Linked DNA regions of Homo sapiens: region 1 is linked to region 2. The links are contacts of gene promoters, found by promoter capture Hi-C in blood cells and fetal thymus (Javierre and others, 2016). All regions are on one chromosome and are shown on one strand. The core of a region is centred on a gene start or on the middle of the fragment in contact, and the rest is flanking DNA. Distances in the headings are between cores, read along the strand shown.

Evidence for each region. The method cuts DNA at HindIII sites, captures the fragments that hold promoters and counts their contacts. A CHiCAGO score of 5 or more calls a contact.
Region 1: a fragment that was not itself captured here is called in contact with the fragment with the promoter of ANKRD61 in region 2 in 2 of 17 cell types (M1 macrophages and endothelial precursors); the score reaches 6.1 in M1 macrophages.

What each region holds. Positions count from the first base shown.
Region 1 is chr7:6,144,311-6,147,533 of GRCh38, reverse strand. USP42 (ubiquitin specific peptidase 42) reads right to left here. Exons shown (of 18, transcript NM_032172.3): 10 at 1,878-2,018; 11 at 1,286-1,386. Among named protein-coding and RNA genes, the nearest start is that of USP42, 41 kb to the right of the region's middle. The HindIII fragment of the contact is 3,832 bases long and covers 1-3,223 here.
Region 2 is chr7:6,029,747-6,033,580 of GRCh38, reverse strand. ANKRD61 (ankyrin repeat domain 61) reads right to left here and starts at 2,205. Exons shown (of 3, transcript NM_001271700.2): 1 at 1,990-2,205; 2 at 645-742. The coding sequence starts at 2,205. The region is part of intron 11 of EIF2AK1 (eukaryotic translation initiation factor 2 alpha kinase 1); the gene reads left to right. The HindIII fragment of the contact is 4,913 bases long and covers 997-3,834 here.

The DNA.
Region 1 (3,223 bases), core at 126-2,625, 110 kb before region 2:
GTAAATGACGTTCTTTAAACTGTGTTTTCTGAAGATGCTGTTTCATCTGAAAGGTATTTCTTTTCTGTTTATTTATATTTTCCTTTTTTTGAGACAGGGTCTTGCTGCGTCGCCCAGGCTGGACTGCAGAGGAACAGCCATTGCTCACTGTGGCCTTGCCCTCCTGCCTCAGCCTCCTGAGTAGCTGGGACCACAGACATGCACCACCACGCCTGGCTCATTTTTTTATTTTCTGTAGAAATGGGGTCTCGCTTTGTTGCCCAGGCTTATATTTTTCTAATTATAAATATATGCCACTGTGGAAAATCTAGTGTCCAAAAAAGTTAGAAACAAAATCCTACCCCTCAACTTGGCCTGAGGCCTCCTCTGATCATCATCTGTGCTTCAGCCCAACTGCCGAAATCCAATGCCAGTGTTTAATATTTCAATGTGCAGACATGAGCATTCTGCCAGTTGGACATTTGAGAATATTCTTGATTTTCAGCTATCAAACATTTTTTCCAAAAATGGAGCGAGTGAGTGAGTGAAAAGCGTATGCAGCCACAACAGGACAGAGCTGGGTGCGGGTGCTGGCCTTGGCCTGGAAGGCAACTGACCTGTGCTCCAGGTTGGGAGGTGCTGGCTGTGACCACGCCAGGTGCTCAGAGGTCCCTTCCTGAGGTCTCCACTCATTGTCCTGTGGCTCCTGGCCCACTCCATTACTGCCCGCAGCAGAAGCCCACCCTTGTCAGCCACCACCTCTCCCTGCAGCTGCACCTTCAGTGCTCATGGCCACAGAGTGCGATGCGGAGCAAACTCATCATCCCGCTCAGACACTACCTTTCTTACTCTCCAGGCACATGGCAGAGTTGATGGTTTTTGGTTTTTTTTTGAGACAGTCTTGCTCTGTCACTCAGGCTGGAATGCAGTGGCTCAATCATGGCTTACTGCAGCCTCGGCCTCCCCAGGCTCAGGTAATCCTCCCACCTCAACTTTCGGAGCAGATAAGACCACAGGCCCACAACACCACACCTGGCTAATTTTTTCGTATTTTGTAGACATGTGGTCTCACTATGTTGCCCAGGCTGGTCGGTCTCGAACTCCTGGGCTCAAGTGATCCTTCCATCTTGGCCGCCCAAAGTGCTAGGATTATAGGCGTGAGGCACCATGCCCAGGCTAGAGTTGATCTTTAAGCTGCTGGGTTTTTTTTTTTTTTTAAAACACTGAATATTGAATTCAAACATGTTGATAAGACAAGAAGAAATGACATACCAGAAAATCTGGCAATTTGTTTTCATGACAATACCTGATATAAAAGAGCACATAGGCTTGTTGGCTGAGTACCGATCTAATATCACTGGTAGATACAATGGAGTCATTCATTTGATACCAGAGGCCATTGCTAGCCTATAAATGAGAGCCAATAAAAGAGAGAGATTAGATTTAATTAAACATGGAACATAGTCAAGAGAAATATTTCTTTCTTTTTTTTTGAGATGGAGTCTCACTCTGTCACCCAGGCTGGAGTGCAGTGGCGTGATCTTGCAATCTCCACCTCCTGGGTTCAAGCGATTCTCCTGCCTCAGCCTCCGGAGCTGCTGGGATTACTGGCAGGTGCCACCACACGCAGATAATTTTTGTATTTTTAATAGAGGCGGGGTTTCACCCTGTTGGCCAGGTTGGTCTTGAACTCCTGACCTCAAGTGATCCCCCAGCCTCAGTCTCCCAAAGTGTAGGGATTACAGGAGTAAGCCACTGCGCCCGGCCAAGAGAAATATTTTTACCTCGGGTATTCACATTTTAACTGTAAAAGTTCCACCTCTCCCTACCCCAAGAATGCTACTGCTGTCTTATAGCATGTATGTAACAATAGTTAATAGCAAATCTGCACAGCTTACTTTTATGTAGCAGAAGTAATGGCCAGCATGGCAATTAAAACCAGTGTGGACCAGCACTGCATACAAGACGTAGACAATTGGCTCTCCGTTGGGTTGAGACATATATGGCCGAATATCAAGATACTCAGGGTATTTCACATCCTAGAAGGAAATGGAAACAGGAGAAACATTTCCGAGGGCACAGATCATTCCACATATTCAGGTAGAGGGTACTTAGAGCTTCCTAGGAGGGGAGACCCACAGAACACCTGAGCCCTGTGATATTCTAGCAAAAACCTAATGCATTTAAAAAACCTAGTGCATTTAGCCATCTTTTTTTTTTTTTTGAGATGGCGTGCCACTCTATCACCCAGGCTGGAGTGCAGTGACACGATCTCAGCTCACTGGAAGCTCCGCCTCCCGGGTTCAAGTGATTGTCCTGCCTCAGCCTCCCGAGTAGCCGGGATTACAGGTGCGCCACCACGCCCAGCTAATTTTTGTATTTTTAGTAGAGACAGGGGTTTCACCATCTTGGCTAGGCTGGTCTTGAACGCCTGACCTCGTGATCCACCCAGCTTGGCCTCCCAAAGTGCTAGAATTATAGGCATGAGCCACTGCACCTGGCCTAGCCACCTTTCAAAGGGCATGGTTAACCGGGAGGATAGCGGAATCTAAGTGTATTTAAGGCCATCCTGCTGCATTTATTATTTTCTTTTAACAAGTCAGGATCTATATTAAGTGAATTCTTCAAACCCATCAAAGGACAGACTAACAAAATGACAACTCTGAACATAATTTTTTTTTTTTTGAGACAGAATCTGACTCTGTTGCCCAGGCTGGAGTGCAGTGGCACAATCTCGGCTCACTGCAACCTCTGCCTCCTAGGTTCAAGCGATTCTCCTGCCTCAGCCTCCCGAGTAGCTAGGATTACAAGTGCCTGCCACCACACCCAGCTAATTTTAGTATTTTTAGTAGAAACAGGGCTTTGCCACGTTCGCCAGAGTGGTCTCAAACTCCCGGCTTGAAGTGATATGCCCAACTAGGCCTTCTAAAGTGCTGGGATTACGGGCGTGAGCCACCACACTCGGCCGATTATTTAATTTTAATAATTCAGGAATGGATCGTTTATTTCTCTTGCATGCTATTTAGTTTTTGACCACTTTCAATCTTCAGAAAGTGGGAAGAAAATGGGAAAATTCAGTGTACTACCAATCAGAAAACAAACAAACAAGACAAAATGAACTTTGGTGAAAACTGGCAAAGTCTAGCAGGAAGTCCTCTTTGGATTTCAGATTATACAGGCTCTCCCTGTATCCCCTCACAACCACGGGTACCAACAAAACAGACAATGAAGCCCAAATGTAGGT
Region 2 (3,834 bases), core at 956-3,455:
TCCATTGTCTACCTATATTTTATTTTTCACACCTAACTTTGGTGGTTAAACTTATTGAAGGCCATGGCAAGGACTTTACTGCATTCCTCACAACACCACCATTGAGCTCTTAATCCTCAGAATGTGCATTAATTTGGCAAAATATTTATGATGTTGCATTTTTCTCAGTTTTTCAGAGTATCTCATCTACTCAGTAAAGACATTGGTTCATTCATAAGAACGAACAAGTCCAAACATAAGTGGAAAAAATGTATGAACTGAAAAAAAAATCTATATCAGGTATATCCTCACTTAGAAATGATTGTCAGTGAAGCTGGGTGCTGTGGCTGAGGGCTGTTAATCCCAGCACTTTGGGAGGCCGAGGCAGGTGGATCACTTGAGGCCAGGAGTTCAAGACCAGCCTGGCCAACATGGTGAAACCCTGTCTCTACTAAAAATACAAATGTTAGCTGGGCATGGTGACGCACACCTGTAATCCCAGCTACTCGGGAGGCTGAGGTGGGAGAAGCTCTTGAACCCAGGAAGTAGAGGTTGCAGTGAGGCGAGATTGTGCCATTGCACTCCAGCCTGGGCAACAGAGCGAGACCCCTGCCTCAAAACAAAAAAGAAAAAAAAAGAAATGATTTTCGGTGGAGTTAACTTACCTGACTTCTGGGTCAGCACCGTGCCGTAACAGGCAGAGCAGACTCTGGGCCTTGTGGTACTTGGCAGCCAGATGGATGGGGATGATAGACTCTGTCGGCTTTGGAGGGAAAACAAAACACATTACAAGTGGCCCTGTGTAGTTAAAAATACTGTTTGTGTTAGCTTGCCGTTTCAAAGGCAATACATTTATTTAGTGTCTCATTGGCTCACTCTTTTTCTGGTATGTGCATTGAAAGTTTCCTTTCTACTACCTGTTTTAAATGATCAAAATTCAGTGAATTCCATCCTATAAAATCTGTGTTTCACAGAAATGCACATTTACTGAGGCAACAGAAATAACACTCAAAAGCTTTGGAAATTTTTGAAAGTTGATTCTTCAGAAGAGCCTGTGGTGTGATATTAAGGGTACTTGCTATGAAGTCACTTATTCCTTAAATTAACCCACAGGGTGATGGACAAGTAGGTGCTGTGTCGTTGCCAAAGTCGTATTATCAGCAGTAAAACCTGAATCTTCAGGGTTTTCAAATATAACGCAGCATATGTTCTGTCTATGATTAGCAGAGCTGTTTGTGCCAGCTCTTAAAATACACACGTGTAAGTAGTGGTTTCACACCGTGGCTGCAAGATAAGACAGTAGGGTACAAGGGAGGGTGACTTCCTTTTTGAATTTAATTGTAAAAGTAATAATCATTGTATAAAAATTTAGAAAATGAAAATGTATATATTAAAAAGGGAAAAACTATTTTTTGTTTGTTTGTTTGAGATGGAGTCTTGCTCTGTCATCCAGGCTAGAGAGTGCAGTGGTACGATCTTGGCTCACTGCAACCTCTGCCTCCTGGGTTCAAGCAATTCTCCTGCCTCAGCCGTCCGAGTAGCTGAGATTACAGGCTCCTGCCACCAAGCCCGGCTAATTTTTGTATTTTTAGTAGAGACGGGGTTTTGCCCTGCTGGCCAGGCTGGTCTCGAACTCCTGACCTCAGGTGATCCACCCACCTCAGCCTTCCAAAGTGCTGGGATTACAGGCATGAGCTACTGCGTCTGGCCAAAAAAGGGAAAAACTAATTTGACCACATGGAGATCATCACTGTGGGTATGTTTGAGAGATGACATGAATGGTCTTCCAGTCACACAGGGTCTGGTGTTTTCTCATGTTGGTTTGTGTGTGACATGTGTAGGGGAGGCTTTGCAGGCTTTGGGGAGCACTGCAGTGTGTGTGGAGTGAGCTGGAGTCGTGTCTCATTCTCATAAGGGCCGTGAGCTTAGTGGGTTCACCAGCTTTAGATCATGCTTCTTTCTAAGCAGCCTGACTTTTTTCCAGAAGTGACTGAGCAGAAAAGAGGGTACCTGGGTCAGAAGTAATCTGTTGCTGGCGGAGTTGGGCAGAATGGTGATGGGCTGGTTGACAGGGTGATTTCTCAGGAGTACCTCGATCGTAGTGCAGTCTTCTCTCATGATGGCTTCATAGAGTTTCGAGTGAAGTGCTGCAGATGGGCCATCTTCCAGGGACTTGGCACTGTCAACCACCAGGTCTCTGCTTCCTTTCCTGGTTATATTCCCCATGAGAAAAACTTAAGACTTCAGGGGAAAATGTTGTTATGGAATTGGTCAGTTTCAGTCTCTTTGTGATGATTCTTTCAGTTCAGTTCTAGAACTGTTCTAGAATTTGTCGAGAATTGGATCTGTGAAGGCAATCCATCAGTTTGGAACCAAGCGTCCAGACTTTGTTCCTTGATCATAGAATGTCAAATGTCAGCAGTTTTTAGGGTTTTCTACTCTATCATAAAAACATATTCAAGCTATCATCTTACACCTTTATTTCTGATTTCTCTCCAGTTCAAGTGTAGCTGAAACAATGATCAAAGCTAAAACAGAGGAATTTATACATTAAAATACAAAGTTAAAATTATTACTTTTAAAGTAAGAAAACTTTTAACCTTAAGTTATTTTTTAGTTTTTATTATAATAGAATCTTCCCTCTCCCCATTATGGGTTCAGTTTTTCTCCGGCATAGGAATAGTTTGGGAGATGTTTTGGGTCTGTACTCTTTGCTTAAATAAAGCCATTTAGTGTGATCTATTAGTTCCCAACCCTGGCTAATACATATGAGTTATCTGGGAGCTTTTAAAAAATATCAAAGTTGGCTGGGTGCGGTCGCTCATGCCTGTAATCCCAGCACTTTGAGAGGCCAGGGCGGGCAGAACATGAGGTCAAGAGATCAAGACCATACTGGCCAACATGGTGAAACCCTGTCGCTACTAAAAATACAAAAAGTAGCTGGCTGTGGTGGCGTGCGCCTGTAGTCCCAGCTACTCAGGAGGTTGAGGCAGGAGAATTGTTTGAACCTGAGAGGTGGAGGTTACAGTGAGCCGAGATGGCACCACTGCACTCCAGCCTGGCGACACAGCAAGACTCTGTCTTAAAGAAAAAAATCAGTTTTTTCGTAGTGCGAGAAACATGCTCACCCGTCCAAACCCAAAGAGTGAACTTAGAGGCACAAAGAACAGTGAAAGTGAGACTTTTAATAGCCCTCTTGCAAGGTCACGTGTCTGGTAGGCAGGTACACCCAGGGCAGTTACAACAGGTGATTTATCTCCTAGCATGCAAGACCCTACCTCAGTTCCTCACTGGTCAAGGACTACAGGGTTACGATCTTCCCGGACGTCGCCTAAGTTGCATTATCCCCTTAGAAGGTTATACCCTGGTCCCTTTCCCGCTTAAGTTTGGATTTCCCAGTAATGAAACTTTCTTCCCTTTTATGGGCTGACTCCTCTACATCCTGTTCACTTATTGTGATCTTCCAGGTGGATGAGCCATGTGGTTTGTTACATTTGCAGGCTGGCTGCCGGTGCTTAGATTTATCATGCCTTGAAAAAGCCATTTAAAATGTTTTCTCACACATAGAAAATCACGTCTCTGGACTCGACAGGACAGTCGTTTCTTTTCTTTTCTTTTTTTTGAGACAGAGTCTCACTCTGTTTCCCAGGCTGGAGTGCAGTGATGCGATCTCGTCTCACTGCAACCTCTGCCTCCCAGGTTCAAGCAATTCTGCCTCAGCCTCCCGAGTAGCTGGGATTACAGGCATGCACCACCACACCTGGCTAATTTTTGTATTTTTAGTAGAGATGGGGTTTCACCATGTTGGCCAGCCTGGTCTTGAACTCCTGACCTCAGGCGATTTGCCCGCCTCAG